Linked DNA regions of Homo sapiens: region 1 is linked to region 2. The links are contacts of gene promoters, found by promoter capture Hi-C in blood cells and fetal thymus (Javierre and others, 2016). All regions are on one chromosome and are shown on one strand. Each heading gives the region's core, a stretch centred on a gene start or on the middle of the fragment in contact. The rest is flanking DNA. Distances are from core to core; before and after follow the strand shown.

Region 1 (7,072 bases), core at 4,081-6,580, 4.0 Mb after region 2:
ATTCATGTCATGCCAGAAAGGATGTACTTTTTAAAAAAACGCATATGACAGACACAGGAGCCAGCTTGAAGGGGCCTTTCAGTAGCTAAAACTAGGGGTAATCTGAGCATCAAAATGGCCAAATAAATTATAAATTATTGGTGGGGGGAATAATCCATGCATCCATACCAATAATAAAAAGATAAATAAGTAGGTAAGGAAGGAGGAGAATTACCAAATGCCAAGTTGTAAATGTGAAAGGAGTGCTGGAAATGAAAAATCATTTTGTGACCGTCAGAATAAAGGCAAGGGTCATCAACAGATGGTAAATGCAGGCACAAAGTTTGAAAAGGAGCACAAGATTTACATGGTCCAAAAGCATCTGCCTATATTACTTATTAGCTGCAAGGGAAAAAATAATACCTACACAGTGGAAACATTAGACCTTGACTGGGTGATCAAAAGTAATATCATCAATAAGAGTCAGACAGACCTCATGTGCCTCCAGATGTGATATCCTGAGAGGGACACAACATCACTTATGTCTTAATTCTCAAAAATAACAATGTTATAAAAGACAAAGGAAGGCTGTGGAAATGATCCAGATTAAAGGAGACTAAAGAAGCATGACAACTATGCAATACCTGCTCCTAAATTAGATCCTGTACTGGAGGGGGAAAAATGCTATCAAGAACACTTCTGGGTCAGTCAACATAACTGGAAAATGGACAGATTACTATGTATTAAATTTACTTAAGTTGTAAATTGTACTGTGATTATGAAAGAGAACATCCCTCCTCTTAGAAAGTACACATTAAAGTCAGAGGTAAAGGACCATGGTGTAAATAACTTTAAGGAAAAAGGTGTGTAAAAAGTGGAAATGATACAGCAAGTGGGGAAAATGTTAACAACAGGTGAATCTAGGTAAAGGGTTTATGAGTAGTCTCTGAACAGTTCTTATTGGGGAAATTTTTCTGTAAATTTGAAACTATTTCTAAATAAAAGTTTAAGATGACAATTTATCATTAAATGAATAAATATTTCAAACCACAATCCATCTATAAATAACTGAAATTTTAAGAATTTCCTTTTAAGAATTACTGCTAGAGTGGAACACTATATAGCAATTTTAAAGGATGCTGAATATTTAATAAAGATATTTCAAGATTTATCCTGAAGGAGAATAACAGATTACCAGTAAGTTATATGATGAACCCATTTTTTATTTAAAAATGAACCCATTTTTATTTAAAAATGAACCCATTTTTATTTAAATATATATTAAAAAGATGTATACAAAGACTAAAAACGTACTGAGGTAAACACAGTTTATATGTGGCCCCAGATTCACCTTTCTCAACCCAGGCCTTGGCTGCCAATCAATGGAAAAGCTCAGTCTCCTAATACCTCTGGTAGATTCAAGCTACCTTGGGAGTACATTCAGGTACTCCTGAATTGTGAACATGGAAAGGAGGCTATAACTCCCTGACTACTTCCGGGTGTTAGTTCCCAGAGCACCACAATCCAAAAGCTTGGAGGCATCAATGCCAGATGTAGAAAACTTTGACCAATGAAAGACAGGTGCCTGCAAACAAATCCTTGTCAGAATCCAAATCCATTCCTCTATCATCTGACCTTTCTAAGGTATGGTGGGTCCACAAAGTCTGTGAGTTATTTAACATGACTGCAAACCACCTGTCTCTTCTTTAGAAATCTATGACCAGCTTTTCTCTTCATTCTTGCCCTCAAACTGCACCTCCCATCAAAGCCTTAGCAGCTAATCCTGTCTGTGCTGTTTTCTAGGAAACCAGGACTAATCACAAGTATAGACTGTTATTATTAAGAATGGTTATCTCTGAAGAATCATGGTGTGCAGTAAAAAACAAAGAATGGTTATCTCTGAGTAAAAGGATTATAGTTTATCTTAATTTTCTTCCTTTTAGCTTTTCCATAATGTTCTATAACATGTATTTCTTTTGTTAAAGGTTAGGGGGAAAAAAATCCCTAAAAACGTATATGTTTGATGCATATACCCAACATCAGTACAAGAGATATTTTTTAATAGTCAACATCATTCATCAATCAAAGTGGTATGCTTTCACCAGATATTTTTAAGGCAAATCTCAGTACCTAACTACTTTTGGTCTTTCTTACATTATGTCTTACAACGTGTCTGGTTTTAAAATATGTTTAATCAGTACTGTTATCTTGGGTTCATTTGTTTTAGTTAAACAAAACCATTTTCCTTTGTAACAGTGACTATTAACAAATCTAATGCTGCAATCACAGAGGTAACACAACTAACTGATAACAGCTAAAACAATGGTATTTGATGGACCTTATAGACAAAATGTAATCATTCTAGCTAGTAAGTTACAGATCATTTATAAAATCACACAAATGAAATATTAAGGTACTTATTTTAAGGTGCAAGTTAAAGAAAACAGAAATCTAATAATTCTTATTTTTCTACATTTCTAAAGATTTTCTGATTGATGAAAAAAATCAGAAAGTACTTATATGTAAGCAAAACCCCAGTACAATTAAGCCACCCTATGGCATGTCAATTCAATTAAATGACTTCAGTAGACAGAGCACAAGCAGGGAAAAAAAAAGTATGCCTTCTTTATTCCCAACTACAAGGCTGCTATTGATAAATCGAGGGCAAAAAAACCTGCCTTCAATTTTATCATTTTATACAAAATGAAGTATGATTCTCTAAAGGTCTTCTGGAAACATTAGTAATGTGAATCTCACCCACGCACCACAGACTGAATTGAACTGACACCCTGAAACAACTGACACCTTAATCCCGAATGTGATAGTATTTGGACATGGGGACCCCTGGAAGATGATTATGGTTAAATGAGGACATGAGGATGGGGCCATGTGAGCACACAGCAAGACAGCAGCTGTCCATAAGCCAGGAAGAGAGCCTCACGAGAACCTAACCATGCAGGTATCCTGATCATGGATGTCTGACCTCCAGACTATGAGAAAAAAAATATCTTGTTTAAGCCACCAGTCTATGGTATTTTGTTATGGCTGCCTTAGCAAACTAATACACCACTTAGTTTGGACTCTGTACAGCAAAACTGTGTCAACAGCAGTCTGTGTTTCTGGTGTCCAGAAGCACTCCTTTCATCTATCCTGTAAAATACTCAGCAGAGTGTCAGAAAACATTTTTGTTAGCTGTATCAGCAAAATGCACACTACAATCTGAGCAATCTATAATGACTACATATTGTTAATGGCAATCACCATTAGCTCTTTATCTTCACACTTACATAAGGTTTCTCATTTAATCTTCTCAACAGCCCTATGAGACAGGTATCATCTCCACTTTACAAATGAGAAAACTGAAGCTTCTCAGAAAGTGAAAAAGAACGTGTGCCACAACTGGGATTTTTTTTTTCGTTGTTGTTATACTAGGATACATGTGCACAACATGCAGGTTTGTTACATAGGTATACATGTGCCATGTTGGTTTGCTGCACCCATCAACTCGACATTTACATTAGGTATTTCTCCTAATGCTATCCCTCCCCCAGGCCCCCACCCCCCTATAACTGGGATTTGAACCCCATTCTGTTATGCTCCAAAGTTTATGCTCTTCCAATCTAGCTACATGGTCTGTCCTTAGAGACACTGACTGCCGGGGTGGGGGGGGAATCCTGGCATCTACTTTGTGAATAAAAATTGTCTGTCTCTGAAATAAGGCAACAGTCAGCATTTTCACTAGGATATATAACAAGAACAGAAGAGCGGAAATGCTTTAAAACACTCTTACACACACATACAAGGCTACCTAGATAAAAAATGGATAACTTATGAGTGTCTTATCCAAACATTTTAAGTTTATAAAAATAAGCAATTCATCAGTGCAATAAGACAGAAAAGTTATTTCACGCAGAAAAATATAACTTAATATTCAAAGACAATTCCTGTCTCCTTAAGCCAATATAGAAATGGACAGAATTTACATTATCTGTATAGACTATAAATATGACCGAGTAAACCAAGAACACTTACCAATCACATTATGTTTTGAACTGAAGGGATCTACAATTGTTTGATCTCTGTAACTTCGAAAACCCTGGATAATCACCTAGTAAATAAAAAACATTTTTGAGAACCCACCCCACAAAAAAAATTAACATTTTTCTCTTGCATTTCTTTCTTGTTTTTCATTTAATGCAATATAGAAAACTCGAAATTTCATATAAGAAAAATTCATTTTGGAAAGTGGTGATTAAAAATCTGCTAAAAAAAAAAAAAGGTACTTTTATCGGTAATCTTTGCCAAGGCAATGCTGCTGGGTTTTATTTTTTTTTAGGAGTTATGCTGTCAACCTGTTAAGGACCTTTCAAAATCAAAAACACTGTGTGAGCTTAACTGAACCCTAAACGCTGCAGTACAATAGCAAGTCTATAAAAGCAGGCCGACGGGCCCCAGCTCTCCTGACTCCAAGACCACCGAGTGCTGCTTTCAGTCACTCACGCCGGCCAGCCTGAAAGAACCCACGTTCCAAAGAAGGAGTGCTCAGAGCCCGACAGACCCAACAGAAAACCGTCTCCAAGGCCGTGTGCCTGGGCTCATCTTTGTGGTGGAGTCCCGCGCGGGAAGACCATTTTGACAGAAGTAAACAACCGAGGGAGGCGGCGCTCCGTATCCTGCAAGCAGGAGGGTCCCGCTCACTTCGCGGGTTAACTGGGGAGAAGAACGGCTCCCCGCAGTGACAGGTGACGACACCCCAGCCAATGCCCCCAGGGCCGCCCCCGGGCCGGGGAAGCCACCTTTCCACACATCCCAGGCACATGGGCCGTGTGAGGCCACCCCTGCAGGACCACACAGCCCTTCCCGCCCGCGGCCGCCCCGGCGGGGTGCCCCCCGCCAGCTCTGGGGCCACCCAGGAAGGCCCAGTCCCTCCCAGCGGCCCGCCCGCCGGCCCTTCCACACCTCTCGGAGATCCTGCCTCTCCCAGACAAGCGCCAGCAGGGAGGCCGGGGCTGCAAAGGAGTGCCCCAATTCTCCGCGACCCCGCAGCCGGGGCACTAGCGGGACCCGGGTCTCCCTCCTCCCCCACAGTCCCCGCCCAGCCCTGGTCCAGCCTGTGGAGACAGGGGAGAGGCTGCGGGTGGCGCCGCAACACTCCCGCCTCAAGGAGCGGCCCTTACCGGCCCATGACGGGGTGGAGGGACGCGAAGGCCTTACCTGCTTTATGTACATGATTCCGGGCCCCTGGCCTGGAAGGAGACCTGCCCCGGAGCAGCAACCGCACGGCCGCAGGGTCAGGTGAGGCGCCTACGCGACCCCTCCCCCAAAGCGCCGCTCGCTCCCCTCAGCCAAACAAAATGGCGGCGCTCGTGGGGGCGGAGTCCGCGCCTCGGACGGAACCACCTTGCAGCCTTCACAGGGCGTAGGAGGAGTCAAGTTCAGGTCTGCTCTTTCTTTTAGGCAAAACCAGTCCTCCACAGCGTTTTTTGGTGGATTTCTTTTGAATCTAGAATTCTGTAGCTAACGCTTTCCTGAGACTTAGTCAAAAGCTTCACTCGGAAAATCTATGACCGTAGGGTTGGTCCGTACCACCTCCGAGCGCGGGGCCAATGGTCGCGTCCACAAAGGGGGAAAGGTTCCGCGCCAAAGCCAAGAGGGAGACTCCGAGGGCCAGTAGCGCCGCGGGCTGTCGGCCACGTGATTCCGCGCTGTTTAAAAAAGCGGACCTCGCGCGCACTGTGCTAGCCTTGGAACACATGGAATGCTGGTGATTCTTGGAATTCTGTGTGCGGAGTCACTGCTGCCCCTTTGTTATCGCTCTCCATAGGAACGTTTACAATCTTAGCACGCCCCAAGCTGGTTACGAATTGCCCACTCGGAGGACAACCCCGAAGGGATTTGTCAATGCTCGAAAATTTGTTTTAATAATGTGATGATTAATTCCGTCGGGAACTGTTTCTGTTCTACCATCTGCTATAAATCTAGGCAGATCTGTACAATTGCAACAAAGATTTAGGTAAGGCTGAAAGCTTTTAATCCACTTTAAAAACAAAAGAAAACAGCCTGAAAGATACTAGGTGCTAGTGGCAACCCTAGGTCTGTCTGATCCTTGTCAGTCTTGGGAGAAAAACATCATTTGTTTAGAAAATGAATCTCTGGGCTGCTCTGAAATTACTTGCTGGGAAGAGAACAAAATAACTACCCAAATCATCCCCAGCCCCACCCCCGCCCGCTGCTGGAGACAATTCTGGCCCTAATTATTTCTAGATTGAACTATTTTTAGTAGCCTCCTAACTGCCTCTGCTAACCAGGGTATCTCCCTAGGAGTCCTTTATCTGGAGCCCGGATCAAATCCTATCCAGCCCTTGGTTTAAAAAAATAAATAGGCCTGGTCGAGTGGCTCAAGCGTGTAATCCCAGCACTTTGGGAGGCTGAGGGGGGAGGATCACCTGAGGTCACGAGTTCAAGACCAGCCTGGCCAGCATGGCGAAACCCCCGTCTCTACTCGAAATACAAAAATTAGCTGGGCGTCGTGGCGGGTGCCTGTAATCCCAGTTAGTCGGGAGGCTGGGGCAGGAGAATTGCTTGAATCCAGGAGGCAGAGGTTGCAGTGAGCCAAGATCGCGCCACTGCACTCCAGCCTGGGCAACAGAGCGAGACTGTCTCAAAATAAATTAAATAAATATGTAAGCATTTTCTTTTCTTTATTTCTAACTTTTTTTTTTTTTTTTGACAGGATCTTGCTCTGTCACCCAGGGTGGAGCTGGAGCATAGTGGCTCGGTCATGGTTCACTGCAGCCTCAAACTCCTGGGTTCAAGCCATCCTCCCACCTCAGCCTACAGGCTGTGGCCACCAAGCCCAGCTTTTTTTTGTTTTTGTAGAGACCAGGTCTCCTTATGTTGCCCAGGCTGGTCTCTAACTTCTGGCCTCAAGCGATCCTCCCACCTCTGCCTCCCTAAATGCTGGGATTACAGGAATGAGCCACTGCACTCAATCTAAACATTTTACTTCTAGATTTTAGTTGTATTATTTAAAGCTTAGGACAGGTATGGTGGTTCACGCCTGTAATCCCAGCACTTTGGGAGGCCCAGGTGG
Region 2 (6,824 bases), core at 1-2,500:
AAGCCTAAGAATCTCGTTTCAGTACAAGCTTATGCCTCAGGGACAATCACTGTCGGTTTCACATGCAGACAATAGTGAGTGAATGCAAAGAAATGGTACTTTCCTACCTGCATTTAAAAAAAGAAAGAAAGTAAATCTACTCCCCCTCCTTTTTTGGGAACATGGACTGGCCCATTGTGGTTGCTGGTGTGTTGAACTAGTAAGTAAAGCGAGGAGAGGAGGCGTGAGAGAGCGTGCCTGCCCGCCGCACACGGGGCTGGTTTCCGGAGTGCGTCTCTAGAGGGATGCACGTTGCCTTAGCCGAGCTTCGGAGAGAAGCCTGATATGTAACCCAGGCAGGTGGGAGCCTCAGTCTGTCGGGCTGAGGTCTGGCATCTACAAAGCCTCTTGGCCGTGTTCTGAACTTGAAGCCTGGAGGAGTTCTCTGCTCAGCACAGCCAAGGAACAGAATTAGAAGAAAAGGAACCCTGGCCTGAGGTAAAGCGGACATTGCACAAGGTGACCTATGTCCTTTGCTTTGCGTGGCAGATGTGAGATTTCTGGCTTCCTTCGTGAGGTCGGAGGCCGCTCGGATCCTCCAAATGTGGTGGCTGGATGCTGGCGACAGAAGTCACTTTTATTGCCCTGACATACATTTATGTAAACTTTTTGTTTTCCTGATGATACAAAAGAAACGACAGGAGCTTTTGTTCATCGATACAGAACTAGACTGAAGGGCAGGAAAGGCTGGTTATTTATTTCACTGAGAAGTGTAGTGCGTTGACCTTTTAAACAAGGCTTATGTTTTTTTAGGCTGCTACCCGCAAGATTGAAAGGAGACTGTGGTTTTCAGACTTTGGGGTTGTTTTGTTTTGTCTGTGGTTTGTAGAGCTCTGTGAAATTTACATTTGAGTCCTGTTTGGGGGATTTGGTGGTGGAAGTGGCACGTGGGAATGAGTAGATTTAGCTATTACTGTAAATTATGAGATTTTTTTTTCTTTAAGAAATACCCAATAAATGAAAATAAGGAAACAAAATGTTTAGATGTTATTCATGTTTTATTGCGGCTCTAGGTTGAAAGAGCTTGACAATTGCCTCTCTTTCCACCTTTGATATGCAGTAAAAGAAATCTAGAGATTCTGGCCTTTATATTGAAAATAGTTTTCCTAAAAACCCAGTTATTAATCGAATCATACTGTAAAGACTTTTTTTGGGGGGAAAGTGTTTTAAAATGTGCTATACTAGCATGAAAGAAGAAATGGGACCAGAAAGTTATTTCATCTGTGAAAAAAATAGATTTATGATGTTGGAAAAGAAAAAAAGAAAACGTGAGTTTGGCCATAAGCCAGCAGGAGTGTGGTCGCTATAGCAGCTTCATTTGTCACTTAGCTGAGATTGGAGACTTAAAAGAAAACTGAGCCTGTTTTTCTCTCAGACAGCCTCATAAGGAATGTTAAGAGGATGTGAAGTTATTTAGATTACCAAAACAGGTTCTGACAAGTAAGTGAAAATAACTCATTAAAATATAATTGTTGCCATTCTATAAATGGATCAAAAGGCTTGTTGAGTCACTGCGTACTTATAGAATAGGTGAATTTGCCACGGCTCATTGGTATAAATTACTTTTGAGAAGGCTTTTTAAGACTAAGCGTGAGGCCTTGCCAAGCATCCCTTATAACACTTAGAATGTTTTGACCAATGTTTTCGAGGCGGTTGCCTAAGCATTTTCATGTGTCAGTGAGTCTAATCCTCGCATCAGTGGCTTATCCAGTAAGCTCAGGGAATATTATATCCTGACAACAGAAGCCTGCAGATTTTTCTCTTCAACTAAACAATAGCTCACCTAAAAGGACAGAAAGTGAACTACTCAGTTCTTGTAACCTGACTTTCTGGAGGGATGGTCATGATTTTGGCTCCTGTAGAACAGGGTTTCTCAACCTCAGCATTATTGACATTTTGGATGGGATTATAGTTTGTTGCAGGGGACTGTCTATGGGATGTCTAGTAGCATCCTTGATCTCTACACACCAGGCGACAGTAGCACTCCCTCCCCAGCTGTGAGAACCAGAGATATCTTCAGACACTGTTAAATATTCCCTGTGGGCAAAATGCCCCTGGTTGGGAATCACTGCTAGAGGGAAACCTGTCTTGGGGCCTACTGCTGCCAACGAGGGGGAAGGGTCTATGAGAGGAGGCTGGAGTCCCAGGGAGGCCTGGCGGGGTCCAAGGAACAGTGGCAGGACAGGTGTTTTTGCCTGACCATTTGGTTTTTATTTTGTTTGGGTTTTGTCTGAAATCACATCTTGGGAATGGGGTATCAGATTCAAGGACTTGCTGCGGATATACATTCTTCTGCCCCCTTTTCCTTCTGTGCCCTTGTGGGACTTATTTTATACAGTGCTATGATTGGTATAGTAGTCAAACTTCTTTCAATTGAATTCTAAAGTGCATTCTGGGGATATACTATTTTGTCTTTTTTTAAAAAGAAGCTTATACAGTGATCCATTTTATAAAGCAAATAGTTACCCATACTTTTCCCTTCTGTAAATATAGAGTTTTTTGTTGTTGTTGTTGTTTGTTTGTTTGTAATGTGGGTTTTTAGTAAATCTGGCCATGCCTGTTAGTTTTTTTTTCTTCTAGAATCTGCAAGTGAATGCTTTCATTTCTTTTTTCTTTTCGCCATCTGTACCAGTGGGTCTCAAACTGTTTTGATTTTTTTAGGAATTGGGCCTTGTTTTGTGAGTGCAATTGAAGAATCACAGCTTTTTTCCAATTTACAGATAACGATGAAGTCAATGGCTGGGATTTTTTCCGTTTAAAATTTTTCTTACACCTTTAGCATTAATGCTACTGCTTGTTTGCTCTCAAAGGTTTACAGATTACAAAATGCATGAAGCTGCGAGTGCTGCTTTTTCTTGGTGTTTCTCCAAGAATATAGTACATTGCACTGAGCACCGTGACTTCCAGGAGCTACCACCACCACCCAAACCAGATGAGATGTACCACTGCATAGTGCTTAGTGGTGCTTAGCATTGGCTGAACAGATAGGGAAACACCTTGACTTATTGAAGTCTATTCTTGGTGACAGACCTGGACTGGCCCATAATGTTATCAGAGAGCTGTGGTTTCTGCTTTTGATTGCAAAGCAAATCTTGCATTTCTCTCCACCTGGAGGTACCAATGTGACACACACCATGTGCTCTCTAAGTAACAGTTCTTCGTAATTAAAATTCACCCTCTCCCCCCATTCAGTAGACCAAAGATCCCTGAGTGCAGCAAATGTGAGCATTTTAGGTCTATTTGCCCCCAGGATATAGCACAGTGCCTGCTCATACTATTTGCTCAGTCATTGATGAACAGACAAATGAATGTCAATGATTTCTATGGAAAGACCACCCAGGAGCTTGGTCAGCAAGCCACATGTCTGCAGCCTGTGTCCATATTTCTGTAATTTTTTAAAGAGGACAAATCCAGTCACCATCTAAGCAGGTTTTAATGTCTGAGGGGCTACCAGAAAACTCTTTGAAGGATGCAGGAAGAGTGGGTCTGTGGGTTGTAGAATTTGGGCCTTCATAAGGCCCAGAAATTAAATTTCTGCTCTTATTATAAACCCCACAGGTTAATGCTTCTTCATGGTTTCAATAAGATAAAGAGCACACTAACCATAGGGTCTGACCCAAAGGCAAGGTATTTACCACCTCTTTAAGAAAACTCGCCAGTTGAAAGAGCTTATGATCAGAGGTGAAAAAACGGCCCTTGTTGATCTATGTGTCCTGTGGGGAGTCAGGTGGTGCTGCCCAGAGAACCTACCTGGTTCTCTGAACCAGGTTATCAGGGCAAGGGGGGTGCAGATGGGGCAGATGTCTTGAAATTGGAAGTTTCCAGACTGTGCAGAATGTAAAGATGCCGTAGTGAGAGACAGAGAAGCCAAAGATCCTCTCAATCTCTTGCTTTGGTTCACAAACCAACCCCAGCTCCATGGATTTTTTTGTTTTGTTTTGTTTTTTGAGATGGAGTCTTGCTCTGTCACCCAGGCTGGAGTGCAGTGGTGCAATCTTGGCTCACTGCAACCTCCACCTCCTGGGTTCAAGCGATTCTCCTGCCTCACCCTCCGAGTAACTGGGATTACAGGTGTGTGCCACCATGCCCGGCTAATTTTTTGTGTTTTTAGTAGAGATGGGGTTTCACCATGTTGGCTAGGCTGGTCTTCAACTCCTGACCTCAAGTGATCCACCCGCTTCAGCCTCCCAAAGTGCTGGGATTACAGGCGTGAGCCACCGCACCTGGCCTAGCTACATGCTTCTAAGCAGAGCCCTGGGAATGAGCAAGCGTGAGCCTTTCTTGTACCTTAAGCTGCAGAGGCTTAAGGTGCAGCCTTTGACGGGAGGGGACCTTCATCAAAGAGGAAACAAACCCTGCTGCTTTATTATTCGCCAAGCCTGGAATGTTTTTAGCAAATACGTGTTTGTGTCCTTCTCAGCATTGCTGGTTCACACTGAGGCCATTTGTTGCTCATAAACACTAGATGAAGCAAAAATACTTGTTTACACTTAAGACTGCTTTTATCTTTCCTTACTGCTGAATAGTAATTTTTTACTAGATTGTCTTGGTTCTGTGCAGCTGGTTCCTTATGTCTGTGCTCATATCCGTATACCTTGTCCAAATAAACATACTTGAAAACATAGAGAATTGTGTTTTGTGAAGTTTAGAACATCCTCTAACAGAGTTTAAGCTGAGCTTTCTGCTTTGTTTTGGCAACTTGTTTAGGATGCCAAATGTATCTGGTCTGGCAACAGATGAAAGAAGATGTTGGCCCTTATATAACGAAGTTTAGGGAATAAGTGGGGGGTGGGGTGGATTGCCAGGTTTCCTTTGTGGTTTGAAAAGAGTTCTAAAGCATGAGGAAAACATGTGTTCGACTGGGTTTTTGTTTTGCCTTTAAACCTTGGAATTTTGAAAATCTGTTGAAATATCTTCTCCTGGCTTATGCAGCCCTCTGAGATTAAGTTTCTGATTACCTACATCTTCCCTCCTCTTTCATTCCAGCCCTGCTAGCCTTCTTTCTGCCCCTCAAGCACAGACACTGTCCATCTCTGGGCTTTCACTGCTCCCTGAGCCTGGCACATTCTTCCTCCAGATCTTGGCTTCCTTCTCATTATTCAACCTGCCTCTTTTGACTTGGAGAGGTATCCTCTAATCACCTAGCTAAAGTTGCTTCCACCTGCCCAACCCCTAGGCCATCTTCTCTCCCCTGGTTCTGTTTTAGGTTCTTCATGGCACTGTTCCCCGACTATCTGGAATTCTTATCTGCTTGTATCCATGTCTAGTATCTGTCACTCATTGCAAGAATGTATGCTTATGACAGGTACTATCATATCCCCGAAACTAAAACATCATCTGATAGAAGGTTGGTGCCCAATAAGAGGATGAGTGGATGGATAGAAGGATGGATGAATGGGAGGGAAAAGGAGAGGGAAGGAAGGAAAGAAGGAGCGGGGAAAGGAGGGGGGTTGACTACCGAGTAAATTTCTACTCTCTTTTAAGTCTAAGAGCTTCTCTCCTGTGATTCCTCTTTGACTCCCCAAGACAGTAGCCTTGGAGAATTTTCTCCCCACACCCACCTCACTTTGTACATTACACTAACCATCTTATCCAGTTACAGTCACCTGTTTGCTAAGCTCTGCATACTAAGCTCTTGAGGACAGGAATGTGTAATAAAGGTGGTTATGGTTGTAATTATTGTTTGTTCTTATTGCCTTAGCACTTTATAAGCATACTTCATCAAAGTCCTTTCATCAACTCTATGGCTTGAGTATGACTCTCATCTTTGTTTTGCAAGTAAGTAAACTGAGGCCCAGAGCAGTTGCCGAAAGGCGTACAGATGATTACTGCAGGGCCAGGAATTGAATACAGATTTCTTCTTGGTAGCGCAGATTATACAGCCTTTCTTTCCTCCTCATCAGGTGTCCAGTGCCTGACCCACAGGTTCATCACAGGCTTTTGCCAAATGAATGAAACCTAAGACCTCACCTCCTCCCTTCTCATCCCTATTATTTGAGCTTATACATATTATTTATACTATTTATAAACATAAACATGAGCCTATCAGTTCATAATCCAGTGACATCTCTAAGGATAACTAGCTGCTGTATCTTAAGTCACTTATTTTTATTGTTTTTTTAGAAACAGGGTCTCACTCTGTTGTCCAGACTGGAGCACAGTGGCACAGTCATAACTTACTGCAGCCTCAAACTCCTGGGCTCCAGAGATTCCCTGCCTCAGTCTCCTGAGTCCCGGGACTACAGGTGCATGCCATCATGCCCAGCTAATTTTTTTTTATTATTATTTTTTAGAGACAGGGTCTCACTATGTTGCCCAGGCTGCTCTCTTAACTCCTGGCCTCAAGTGGTCCTCCTGCCTTGGCCTCCTGAAGTGCTGGGATTACAGGCATGAAGCACCACACCCAGCCTACGTCATTTTTCTTTCTTTCTTTTTTTTCTTTTTTTAACCGATAGGACGTCATTGATTGCTTAAACCCTCTCATTCTTCTTATGTAAACAAATCTATTAGTCAAAAGTTAAGCAGCTGCTGAGTCACATGGCACTTTAATCCAGGGTTACAATTGGCAGCCCTGGGAATGAGTTCTCCTTTTTTTAGCTCCCACGATGGCACTGATTTCCCCTAGAATATGAAACTTACACCAAGGAAACCACCATGACAACTGTAGGTAGCAATTTCAAGCAGAAAAGACTAGGAAAATGCCTAAGAATTTTAAACCTGACAGAGTTCTTCTACATTTTTAATATAACCAAGTGCTGTTCATCACCTGCCTTGACACCGGTGTT

What was found. Contacts are between HindIII fragments. The CHiCAGO score rates a contact against its expected background, and 5 or more counts as called.
Region 1: a contact is called between the fragment with the promoter of SMC3 here and a fragment that was not itself captured in region 2, in 1 of 17 cell types (naive CD4 T cells). The highest score is 5.0, in naive CD4 T cells.

The regions. Positions count from the first base shown.
Region 1 is chr10:110,565,953-110,573,024 of GRCh38, reverse strand. It overlaps SMC3 (structural maintenance of chromosomes 3), which reads right to left and starts at 5,330. Exons shown (of 29, transcript NM_005445.4): 1 at 5,194-5,330; 2 at 4,012-4,087. The coding sequence starts at 5,208. LOC105378483 (a long non-coding RNA gene) reads left to right here and starts at 5,717. Exons shown (of 2, transcript XR_946318.2): 1 at 5,717-5,992. RefSeq lists a silencer at 4,721-5,010 and enhancers at 5,351-5,450, 5,461-5,510, 6,325-7,027. The HindIII fragment of the contact is 2,181 bases long and covers 3,347-5,527 here.
Region 2 is chr10:114,520,313-114,527,136 of GRCh38, reverse strand. The region is part of intron 6 of ABLIM1 (actin binding LIM protein 1); the gene reads left to right. Among named protein-coding and RNA genes, the nearest start is that of AFAP1L2, 120 kb to the right of the region's middle. RefSeq lists enhancers at 1-218, 389-508. The HindIII fragment of the contact is 2,440 bases long and covers 31-2,470 here.